Linked DNA regions of Homo sapiens: region 1 is linked to region 2. Evidence: promoter capture Hi-C in 16 types of primary human blood cells and fetal thymus (Javierre and others, 2016). All regions are on one chromosome and are shown on one strand. Each heading gives the region's core, a stretch centred on a gene start or on the middle of the fragment in contact. The rest is flanking DNA. Distances are from core to core; before and after follow the strand shown.

The links. The method cuts DNA at HindIII sites, captures the fragments that hold promoters and counts their contacts. A CHiCAGO score of 5 or more calls a contact.
Region 1: a contact is called between a fragment that was not itself captured here and the fragment with the promoter of RAB10 in region 2, in 2 of 17 cell types (megakaryocytes and M2 macrophages). The highest score is 6.0, in megakaryocytes.

What each region holds. Positions count from the first base shown.
Region 1 is chr2:26,143,648-26,149,965 of GRCh38, forward strand. It overlaps the pseudogene SMARCE1P6. Among named protein-coding and RNA genes, the nearest start is that of GAREM2, 26 kb to the right of the region's middle. The HindIII fragment of the contact is 1,987 bases long and covers 2,250-4,236 here.
Region 2 is chr2:26,031,451-26,037,625 of GRCh38, forward strand. It overlaps RAB10 (RAB10, member RAS oncogene family), which reads left to right and starts at 2,634. Exons shown (of 6, transcript NM_016131.5): 1 at 2,634-3,285. The coding sequence starts at 3,159. LOC124907743 (a long non-coding RNA gene) reads right to left here and starts at 2,299. Exons shown (of 2, transcript XR_007086249.1): 1 at 2,228-2,299; 2 at 961-1,211. RefSeq lists a silencer at 2,300-2,529 and an enhancer at 2,840-2,889. The HindIII fragment of the contact is 14,591 bases long and covers 1-6,175 here.

The DNA.
Region 1 (6,318 bases), core at 1,993-4,492, 110 kb after region 2:
GAAGCCGAGATGGGAGGACTGCTTGAGGCCAGGGGTTCAAGACCAGCCTGAGGGTATAGTGAGACACTTTCTTTACACAATAAGCAAACAAACTAATGCCAAGGTTGCACCCCAGAATTCCTGAGATGATAGTGGCTTTTTGTTCGTTTTTAACTTCCTATGTGATTCCCATGTGCAGCCAAGTTCATGAACCAGTTCCCATACCCTTGCTACTCAAAGTGTGTTCTTCAGATCACCTGCATGGGAATCACCTGGGAGCTTCTGAGAACTGCAGCTGCTCTGCACAATTCACATCTATGATTACACAAAAGCCCCAGAGGAGTCTCACACAAATTACAATTTGAGAAAGGTGGCCCTATGCTATTTTCCCAAGGCCAGCCCGAATCCCACCAGCAGGTATATTCCCCACTTCTGAGCAGAGCAGTTGCCTTTCTCTTCTAAATCCCGAGAAGAATACATTTGGCCTGCTTTTCCGTTGGGCATTTATTGCCTACTTCCTTGTTTGTGGTTAACTGGCTTATCTCTTTAATGGATTGTGAGCGAGTGGTGGGCAGGGACTCTAGTCCTTTTTGTGTTTTCACAAATCTTATTGCATTGCTGTCCACGCAGCAGGTGCTCAGAACATGCAGTGAGTGAACCGGTGACGTTCCTTCAGCTTCCCTCTCCCATCACATTCAAGCAGGGGATGCAGCGGCCTCCTTTTCCCCACCCCCACTTCCATACATTCACAGTCCCATCTTGATTCAAAGGCAACTTCAATTATAACTTTTAGTCTGGGCACAGTGGCTCACGCCTGTAATCCCAGCACTTGGGAGGCCGAGTCTGGTGGATCACTTGAGGTCAGGAGTTTGAGACAAGCCTGGCCAACATGGTGAAACCCTGCATCTACTAAAAATATAAAAATTAGCCTGGTGTGGTGGCACGTGCCTGTAATCCCAGCTACTTGGGAGGCTGAGGCAGGAGAATCACTTGAACCTGAGATAGGTATTAGTAAGCCGAGATCATGCCACTGCACTCCAGCCTGGGCAACAGAGCAAGACTGTCTCAAAAAAAAAAAAAGAAAGAAAGAAAAAGAAAAAAGGCGGGGCCTGGTGGCTCATGCCTGTAATCTCAGCACTTTGGGAAGCTGAGGTGGGAGGATCACAATGTCAGGAGTTTGAGACCAGCCTGACCAACATGGTGAAACCCCGTCTCTACTAAAAATACAAAAATTAGCCAGGCATGGGAACGCATGCCTGTAATCCCAGCTACTCAGGAGGCTGAGGCAGGAGAATCACTTGATCCTGGGAAGCGGAGGTTGCAGTGAGCCGAGATCACACCACTGCACTCCAGCCTAGGCAACAGAGTGAGACTCCGCCTCAAAAAAAAAAAAAAAAATTTAAAGTTCAAATTTATTCTTACTACTTCCGGGTATTGGATACATTAGTTGACTCCTGTGAATCATTTCCTTGTCTCTAAAGGAGATGGACTCGAAAGCTCTCCAACAGTTCAATGGAAATATTCTACAATTCTGTAGTCCACCTTGCTGGATTAGCCAGGACTCCAATACCCCAACTCTTGTGGGGTTGGCAGTGGGGCTTGCATGGAGAAACTATAAATTAAACGTAGGGTCGCTCCGCCACCGTGTGACCAATGCTGGAAACTGCATTTCTTCAGTGTGCCATGAGAGATTTCTCAAAAGCCCATCAAGATTTTAGGGTAATATATAGCCACACAAAATTAAATGATCTCTCCCTACCCCCACCAGCATGGCAGACACGGAATTTTAAAAGTATAAACCTACAAAGATAAAAATTAGGGAGCAAGAGACATCAGCAAGTGAGAATTAAAATTTTTATGTATGTAAATATTAGTCTTTAAAAAATGGAAGATGGAAAACAGAGCTAACTGACGTGGAGCATAAGTTACAACCTCATTGTTTTCAAAGGGGGATGTCGATAAGAAGTGGGTATATTTTCTCTGATGGGATCCCAAGAGTTCCAGGATTTATAGGTACCAGTTACCATGGACAACTGAGGCATATGGCAATGGGCTAAAAATGGAGCAAGGAAATAACGGATCCCAAGTGTCCCTTCCCACCCCTCACAGCCAGGAGTTGCTGTCACCCCTCTTCAAGCCTTATTATTTGCAGAAATGAAACTATAGAGGCTTCAGATGTGAGGCCACCAGGCCCAGAGAGAGGTGGAGGTGAGTCATAGTATCAAAAACAAGGAATGAAGTGGACGCCTGTCTTGAATAATGGGCTCCTAAGCTTCTTTCCTTCATTCTTCCTTCCCTTTCCCAGAATTTTAGCAGCCAAATACATGTACTCAGGCAGAAGATTAGGAAGTCCTTCTGTCACATGGAAGTTCACCAACAAAAAGGCCCCTTATAGCAGATTCCTCCAGTTCTGAGGACATATAAACACATACAAAGTTTCCAATCTACCAAAACCGTATATACGAAATCAGTCAACATAAAGAAAAGTATAGGAAAATTAATAACAATCTACAGAAAAAAATAGCCGGGCATGGTTGCACACACCTATAATCCCAGCCACTCAGGAAACTGAGGTAGGAGAATTGCTTGAACCCAGGAGGTGGAGGTTGCAGTGAGCTGAGATTGTGCCACTGCACTCCAGCCTGGCAACAGAGCAACAACGTCTCAAAAAATAATAATAATAAAAATAAATAAAATAAATAAAAATAACAATCCACATACCTGACACCCAGATTGAGTCAGATATTCAGTTCTTCATGTTGACATAAAAGAGACAGTAAAACAACTAACAAACATAAAAAGGAGACTTCAGGGGAAAAAAGGTAAGGAAAACCAAAGAAAAACCCCAAACTCACTTTAAGCAATATTTTTGAATGACATGGGATCCATAAATTAAGAATAGGATGCTATAAAAAAGAACAAATAATGAAAAAATGATCTCTAAAATAAAAACTATCCACTGAAATAAAATGATTCAAGAGAAGAATAGGCCAGGCACAGTGGCTCCTGCCTGTAATCCCAGCACTTTGGGAGGCCCAGGCAGGCAGATCACTTGAGGACAGGAGTTTGAGACCAGCCTGGCCAACATAGTGAAACCCCGTCTCTACTAAAAATACAAAAATTAGCTGGATGTCGTAGCACATATTTATAGTCCCAGCTACTCGGGAGGCTACTCTGGAGGCTGAGGCAGAAGAATCACTTGAATCCAGGAGGCGGAGGTTGCAGTGAGCTGAGATCAAGCCACTGCACTCCAGCCTGGGCAACAGAGCAAGACTCTGTCTCATTAAAAAAAAAAAAAAAAAAAAAAGTGGGGGAAATAAATTTCTGTTCTTTATAAATTAGCCAGTCTATAGTATTCTGTTATAGCAGCACAAAACAGACTAAGACATAAAGTAATTATCAGAGAGAAAATACAAAAATAGAAAAGGAACTTACTTGTCAAATGTAAAGGCAAAATAAATGACATATTCAGATATGCAAACAGGTAAATGTTTTTTTCCCTTGCTGTCCTTCTCAGGAATCTACTCTAGGAAAAGGAAAGAGTACACCAAGGAAAAGAAAAGCCGGAGACTCAGAAAACAGGGACTCAAGTGTGGGCCAGTCCTGGAGGGGCTATGTAGTTGGACTTGGAAGCAACCTACCCAGAGGGGAGCAGGAAGACAGTCTCCAGGAAAACCAGTGGAAGAAATAATATTGATAGGTGGGTGATATAGCTGAGGGACAGTGCAAAATCATGAGGATAAAAAACAAAACCTTTCTCTCTGCTGGGAGCAGCTCTCTGAGAGCTAGGATAAAATCTGTCCTGCCTCACACAGGATCCCCAGTGCCTGACTATTCCTGGCACATAGTAGGTGCCCAAGAAATATTGTTAAATGAGGCCAGGCATAGTGGCTCACACCTGTAATTCCAGCCCTTTTGGAGGCCAAAGCAGAAGGATCTCTTGAGCCCCTGAGTTTGAGACCAGCCTAGGCAACATAGGGAGAGTCCATCTTTACAAAAAATAAAAAATTAGCTGGGTGTGGTGCTATGTGCCTGTGGTCCTAACTTGAGGTGCTAAGGTGGGAGGATCACTTAAGTCTGGAGGTCGAGACTGCAGTGAGCCATGATCACACAAGTGCACTCCAGCCTGAGCAACAGAGTGCAGACCCTATCTCAAAATATATATGTGTGTGTGTGTGTGTGTGTGTGTGTATATATATATATATATATGCATAGTTAGATGAGTGAATGAATGAATGCATGAAGGAGAGCAGATCAAGCTTCCCATTTGTGCTTTAAGCCGGGTGCTAAAGTAGACCAGCTAACCTGAGCACCTGAGCGCCCCTCCTCCACTACAGATACCTTAGAAATACAACATCAGTATAATTTTGAATGCATAATCAAGTCCTCAAGAAAGCAAAGATAATCTGAAGGAGAAACAGGTCACTTACAAATCATTTTTGTTTTGTTTTTATTGTTGACATATAAAAAACCATACATATATGTACACATCTTTATGTATACAGACCCTAATAGATCTGCCTTGCCCACAGGCTTTTTTTTTTTTTGAGACGGAGTCTCACTCTGACGCCTCGGCTGGAATGCAGTGGCGTGATCTCAGCTCATTTCAACCTCCACCTCCCAGGTTCAAGGGATTCTCCTGCCTCAGCCTCCTGAGTAGCTGGGATTACAGGCACATACCACCATGTCCGGCTAATTTTTGTATTTTTTGGTAGAGATGGGGTTTCACCATGTTGGCCAGGCTGGTCTCAAACTCCTGAGCTCAGGTGATCCGCCTGCCTCGGCTTCCCAAAGTGCTGGGATTACAGACACCTCTTTGTGGTCTCTGCTCAAATGTCCCCTTGTCATTGAGACCTTCCCTGGCCACATTGCATAGGACAGGAACAACACCTCTCCCAGTCCTGAATTCGCTATCCTTTTCACTTGGCTTTCTTTTTTCCTCCACAGCTCTTTCCACCACCTGACATATTAACATTTACTGTTCATTTGTTTATTGCCTGTCTCTGCTAGGATAGAAGCTCCAAGTGGGCAGGGGCTCTTTCTGTCTTATTCATGGCTCTGTCTTCAGCACCTAGAACAGCACCCACTGCATGAACGATGCTATTTGTTGAATGAATAAACCTGATCTCTTGTGCCCCTACTTCCTACTGGGAAATCTACAGTGAAGAGAGGAGAATAAAACTAACATTTTTGCAGCATTTTCTTAGGGTCATGGAGGGATTCCTAGTGTCCCAAAGGTGCTTGTCTGAGTCCTGAAAGTGAAGGGGCTATTTGTAGTAAACAAACAAACAAACAAACAAAAAACCCACTTTAGGACATAATATAGGAAGTGGGCTGGGCTCAGTGGCTGGTGCCTGTAATTCAGCACGTTGGGAGGCTGAAGTGGGAGGATCACTTGAGCCCAGGAATTCGAGACCAGCTGAGGCAACAGTGAAGTCCCATTTCTACAAAAAATTAAAAAATTGGAGGGGTGGGCATGCATGGGATAAAGGGAAGTGAAGCCAGGGCTTGGGGCACTTTTTCTGCCCATGAAGTCTCAGATTCATTCTTAAGGAACTGAGAACTTAATCTTCCAAAATGTCAAAAAGACCATCTTATGCCCCAACTCCCACCCCAGCTCCTGCAACACAAATGTCCAGTACACCAGGGTTTGTGGGATACAATCCTTACAGTCATCTCACCTACAACAACTACAGGCTGGGAGGCAACCCAGGCACCAATAGCCGGGTCCCAGCGTCCTTTGGTATTATGATTCCAAAACCCCCAAAGCCACCAGATAAGCCGCTGATGTGCTACATGAGGTACAGCAGAAAGGTCTGGGACCAAGTAAAGGCTTCCAACCCTGACCTAAAGTTGTGGGAGATTGGCAAGCTTATTGATGGCATGTGGGGAGATCTCACTGATGAAGAGAAACAAGAATAAACAAATACAAAGTAGAAAAGATAGAGTACAATGAATCTATGAAGACCTCTAATTCCACACGAACCTTGCTTACATAAATGCTGCAAAAAGTCATGCAGAAGCTGCTTTAGAGGAAGAAAGTGGACAGAGGCAGTCTCGCATGAAGAGAGGAGAACCTGACGTGAGCATTCAGCTTGCTGAAGATCCAGATGATTGTGACGATGGCTTTTCATTTCTTTTTTTTTTTTTTTTTTGAGACAGAGTCTCGCTCTGTCGCTCAGGCTGGAGTGCAGTGGCGTGATCTCAGCTCACTGCAACCTCCGCCTCCTGGGTTCAAGCGATTCTACTGCCTCAGCCTCCCCAGTAGCTGAGATTACAGGCACGCACCACCACGCCTGGCTAATTTTTTTTTAATCTTTAGTAGAGATGGGGTTTCAC
Region 2 (6,175 bases), core at 1,384-3,883:
CACACCTGTAATCCCAGCACCTTAGGAAGCCAAGGTGGGAGGATCGCTTGAGGCCAGGAGTTTGAGGTTGCAGTGAGGCCTCCACACTCCAGTGTGGGAAACAAGCAAGACCCTGTCTTAAAAACAAACAAAACCTTTAACACTTCATTTTTTCACAGATGGAGTCCACTCTGTTGTCCAGGCTGGTCTCAATCTCCTGGGGTCAAGCAATCCTCCCTCCTCAGCCTCCTGAATAGCTGGGACTACAGGTTCAGTCACTGTGCCCAGCTTAAAAACTTTCAAGACTTTTAAAATACTTTGTAACATTGAGGCTTGAGTTAATCTAACTTATTTTGAAAGGAATAATCAAGGTAACAAGATTTTCCTTCTGACGCTGAATTGACGACACACCTGTGCTGCACTGACCATCACTCACTTTGTGATTTGCATAGCTAGTCTATTTTAGAATTGTTATTATCATAAGGCATTCCCGACTACAGTCAGAATGATTCATAGAGGATAAGAAGGTTTAAGTGAGGCCAGGCGCAGTGGCTCTCACCTGTAATCCCAGCACTTTGGGAGGCTGAGGCGGATGGATCATCTGAGGTCAGGAGTTCAAGACCAGCCTGGCCAACATGGTGAAACCCCGTCTCTACTAAAAATATAAAAATTAGCCAGGCTTGGTGGCACACGCCTGTAATCCCAGCTACTAAGGAGGCTGAGGCAGGAGAATCACTTGAACCCGGAAGGGCTGCAGTAAGCCGAGATTGTGCCACTGCACTCCAGCATGGGTGGTAGAGTGAGAGTCTGTCTCAAAAAAAAAAAATGTTTAAGTGACAAGACTAGGAGCAATTGGAGAAAACAACTGAAGAGAAAGCTGTATTAGTGAAGACAAGTATCTTCGGTAAGGACGCTTTAGGGGTGGTTGAGAAGAAAGGAAAAATGTAAGACAGAAATATAAGACAGAAATGTAAGACGGAATTGCCTGAAAGTCTAACTTTAATTACATATCAAATACACATTTTGGTGATTTGGCGATCTTGGGGTGGTGTGTGTGAAAATGTAGTTTTTACTTCTCTATCCCTGTTTCTTGTTTTCCACATACTTCAGCGTTTTCCACTTTATCAGGTTGAACCAGCTCACCAGGTTCAACTCCTGTGCCATCACACCTAGGTGTGCTTTGAGGGATGGATGTCCCTGAGAATGGAAGGTCAGCAGCATGCATACTGCAACTACAGAAGGGTAGGAGAGAAAAAGGGTGGCGTAAACAGGACTGATGGGGAGAGAGAACAGAAGGTAAAGCAAATGCAAAGAAAATGCGAGGGCCCGGGCGCGGGGGCTAACGCCTGTAATCCCAGCACTTTGGGAGGCCGGGGCGGGCGGGTCACCTGTCAGGTGTTCGACACCAGCCTGACTAACAGGGTGAAACCCCGTCTCTACTAAATACAAAAAATTAGCCGGGCGTGGTAGCACATGCCTGTAATCCCAGCTACTTGGGAGGCCGAGGCAGGAGAATCACTTGAACCCAGGTGGTGGAGGTTGCAGTGAGCAGAGATTGTGCCATTGCACTCTAGCCTGGGCAACAAGAGCGAAACTCCATCTCAAAAAAAAAAAAAAAAAGAAAGAAAAGAAAAAAAGAAAAAGAAAATGCGAGGAAACGAGCGAAACTCCATCTCAAAAAAAAAAAAAAAAAAAAGAAAGAAAAGAAAAAAAGAAAAAGAAAATGCGAGGAAGCAGGCTGTGTCGGACTGGGAGTAGGCTTGACCACCTTTCAATTTTCAACCCAGTGGTACGACGCTGGCGGCAGGCAGAGGCCCCACCTCCTCTGCAGAGCGCTCTCGGGTTCTCCCGGATTCCTGAAGGACGGCAAAGGCCTGAAGCAGGTTCTCTGAGCACCGCACAGAACCCTCCACTTCGCAGGGAGGTTCTTCCTGCGCCCAGGTGTTCCTCAACCTTCCTCTCCTCGCCCAGGAAGAGGTTGTGAGGATTACCTCATCCCAACCCGAGCGGCGTGGCCAGCTTTTCCATCTCAAACTCTTGCTCTTGAAGTCAATCCGGATGGAGCGCTCATGTTTCCCCGTCAGGGCTGGCCCTGGAGAGGGGGCACGCCGGGAGGCGTCTCGTTCTAGCAAAGAGGCTATTAAATGACCCAGGGCGCGGCTTTTTCTCGCGTTTACGAGCTCCACCTACACGGGAACACATGGCCACCCAAGCCCGTCGCTGCGCCAAGACCTCCAGCTCAACACACCCGACAAGCGCTGTGCAGAGAAACCGCAGCGCAGTCCAGCGGGAGACCCCGGGAGGGGAAGGAGGTGCTGGGCTCTGTAAGGGTGTCCCGGGGAGCGGGGAGCGGGAGGCGGGAGGCGGGGGTCGGAGGGGGGGCGCTGCGCCTGCGCAGTCGCTAGGTAGCGTCTCCCCCGGGGCGTGCTCGTAACGCCGCGCACCCTATCAGGCGGCCACAGGGAGCGCGCCCGCGGCCTCGCCCTTTCTCGCCCCTCCCTTCTCCCCTCTGGGTCCAGCCTCAGACTGAGGCTTGGAGACAGGAGCATTCCACTCGCCACTTCGGCGCGCCCCCATGCCCTCTTGTGCGCGTGCGCAGAGGCGGACCGCAAGGCTAGGGCGTGAGGGAAGGGCGGGCGTACGCCCTTGCGTGCGTCTCAGGCAGCGCGCACGCCGGCGTGAGAGGGCACGGGGAAAAGGTGGCTCTGGCCGGGGTGGCTCGGTTTCCTGGGGCTATGTAACTGAGCTCGTCGACTTAGGGGTCCTTCTTCGCTGCCCTCGCCGCGTGCTAGCAGGGAGTTTCCGCTCGGGAGAGAGACTGTCCTCACGCCCGCTGCGCCTCCTCGACGGCAGAGCAGGCTTGCTCGCCCGTGGGAGCGTCCCGGCCGAGAAGCCCTGAGGGGGGAGGGGAGGCCATTTTGTCCCGACCGACTCCCCGGAACCGGGCGGACGGGCTGGGAGAGGCTGCGGAGCCGCGGTCGCCGCCCTCGGAGGCACTGGACGCCGCCACTGTCGGGGCTTCCTCAAAGCTGTTCGTAGGTCGCCCGCGCCGTCTCGAGCCTTTTTCCCACGCTTCCCCGGTCCTCCGGCCTGAGAACGCCCGAGTGAGGAGTTGGCCGTAGTGAGAGGGACCGATCCCTTGGGGCCGCCGGCGGCGAGAGCCCGAGCCGCTCCTCCCAATGGCGAAGAAGACGTACGACCTGCTTTTCAAGCTGCTCCTGATCGGGGATTCCGGAGTGGGGAAGACCTGCGTCCTTTTTCGTTTTTCGGATGATGCCTTCAATACTACCTTTATTTCCACCATAGGTAAGACCTGTGGGAGGACGGTGTACGGTCTCGGTAGCTGCATACCGTTTATTTTACTCCAGACATCTTGCTTCCCGTAATATACGCCTTTGTTTCAGTGATTCCGATTCCAAACGACACATCCAAGTTACTGTTTGAATCGGCATCGAGCTTACTGGGGCGGGGTCTTCCCATGATTTCCATCCGGTCTTTTGCTTTCGAGTCTCCCACTATGCTCAGTGCCTTCTGTTACAAAATATGCATCATTTAACCATGTTCCAGAACCTTATTTCTTCAGGCGACTGGACTGGCTTTTTCCACATTTGCGTGGAATTAGTAGATGTGTGATATTTTTAAGGTATTTATTTCAGTGGTTGCGATTGAAGCAGTACTAGCTATTTGGGAAAGGCCTGAATTTATACTTTGGGGCAAAGAAAAGATTCCATATGGTGATAACTTAGAGTAAACTTGAGGGTTTCTGAGAAGAATAATTAAGGTAAATTAGAAGGGAAGAGTGAGTTGCCCTCATTCACTAATCCATTGATGTGTCAAACAATCGGAGGCTCTTCGCGCTTGGGGTGGGACTCTGGCATATTTGCCTCAGTGCTTTTCGAGACATCAACAGAAGCAGTAATCTGAGGGAGATGATCAGTTTCTGTCCTCAAACCCAACGGAGTGAAGTCAAGCTCTCTCTTCTATTTTATTTGACTCTAGTATTTACAGGAAAGTATTTTGCCAGTCATAGCCCTATGGACTTATAATGCACTTTCACCATGTTTCAGAATTACTTAGTGTGGAAGTAAGAGCTAAAGAGTGACCTTTTTAATCGAATTTCCCGTTTAGGAAAGGAAAAGGGAAGGCTCTAGGAAAGTCCCTTTTGAATCTGGTTAGAAAATTTAAGTGGCATTGACGCTAATTGTGCTATATTAATTGTGAAACCCATCCGCTCCGCAATAAATTTCTTAAAAGACACATGGCTCTCAGCATTGTGGCGGTGCAGTTGAACCCATTTTTAAATGTACTTTTATATTGAGAGGCTTTTAAAAAGCAACGGCAGTCGTCTTTGAACTCTGGGAATTGTCAAAATTAAGCTGATTTGAAACAGTTTGTATAGCGTAACTGAAATATTTGGTTTGGGTTTTCTTTTGTGACAAATACCTGCTTCATTCTCACAAAAGAAATTATACTGAAATTAAATTGGACAAGTGATTTTTTAAATAGATTTTTATTTTGCTTACCTTTTTTGGGAGGCAAATTATCATAATCCTTATTTCCAGAGTATCATACTGTTTTCTTGGTCTGTCATAAATTTCATGAAACTTAGAGCTTGTTCTCTAACTTGTGGGTTAGAGAATACTAGCACTTAGCGCTAGCACTTCCCTAGCACTGTTTGCTTTTAACACTCCACTTTTAGCTGTAGCTGGCTAGGGTTAGGTGATCAGATGGGTCAGCAAATATTTATTGAGCACCTAATGCTGGGCACTGTTTTTAGGCACTGGGAATAAATGATGAACACAACAGACCCCTTGAGGAGCATTCCGGTGAGATAATCATAATAGTGTGGAAGATGCTACAATAGTAAGCACAGGGAGGAAGAGTGGCTAGTCTAAATCGTGAGGAGTTTGAGTAGGCTTACGTGGAGATGATACCTAAAATGAAGTCTGGGCCGGGCGCGGTGGCTCATGCCTGTAATCCCAGCACTTTGGGAGGCCTTGGCGGGCGGATCACAAGGTCGGGAGGTCAAGACCAGTTTGGCCAATATGGTGAAACCCCGTTTTTACTAAAAATACAAAAATTAGCTGGGCGTAGTGGCAGGCACCTGTAGTCCCAGCTACTCAGGAGGCTGAGGCAGGAGAATCACTTGAACCTGGGAGGCGGAGGTTGCAGTGAGCTGAGATTGTGCCACTGCACTCCAGCCTGGGCAACAAAGCCAGACTCCGTCTCAAAATAATAATAAATAAATGAAGTCTGAAGGACTAATAGGAATAGAGTCAGAGGGGTAGGATAGGGCCTTTCTGGAAAAGGGAGCATAGAACAAATGTATAGTAAGGTTGAGGATTTAATTCATGTGGTCAACTTTATTTATTTATTTTGAGACTGAGCCTCACTCTGTGGCCCAGGCTGGAGTGCAGTGGCGTGATCTCGGCCCACTGCAACCTCCGCCTCAGGGGTTCAAGCAATTCTGCCTCAGCTTCCTGAGTAGCAGAGACTACAGGTGCCCACCACCACACCTGGCTAATTTCTGTATTTTTAGTAGAGATGGTTTCACCATGTTGGTCAGGCTGGTCTTGACCTCAAGCAATCCACCGCCCCAGCCTCCCAAAGTGCTGGGATTACAGGCGTGAGCCACCACGCCTGGCTGTGTGGTCAACTTTAACCTATCCTTAGGAACAGTGTGGAGTAGGAAGCAAAACATTAACTCTGTCTACTCCAATCTTTTTGTAAAGGGTGCATGCCCCCAACTAAAACTCAATCCTGTAAGATAATGGTATAATCTTTTTGTAGCCCTTTTACTTGGGAAGATGTGTGATGATTTTGGATCAAGTCTGCTGGGTTGGAATCTTGTTTCCACAGGTTACTAGCTGTGCAACTTTGGCAGATTACTTAACCTCTGTCGGCTTCAGGCTCTTTAAGAGTGTTAAGGCTGGGCACGGTGGCTCACTCCTGTAATCCCAGCTCTTTGGGAGGCCGAGGCAGGCGGATCACCTGAGGTCGGAAGTTCGAGACCAGCCTGATCAACATGGAGAAACCCTGTCTCTACTAAAAATACAAAAATTATCTGGGCGTGGTGGCGCATGCTTGTAATCCCAGTTACTCAGGAGGCTGAGGCAGGAGAATCGCTTGAACCCGGGAGACAGAGGTTGTGGTGAGCCGAGATCGTGCCATTGCACTCCAGCCTGGGCAACAAGAG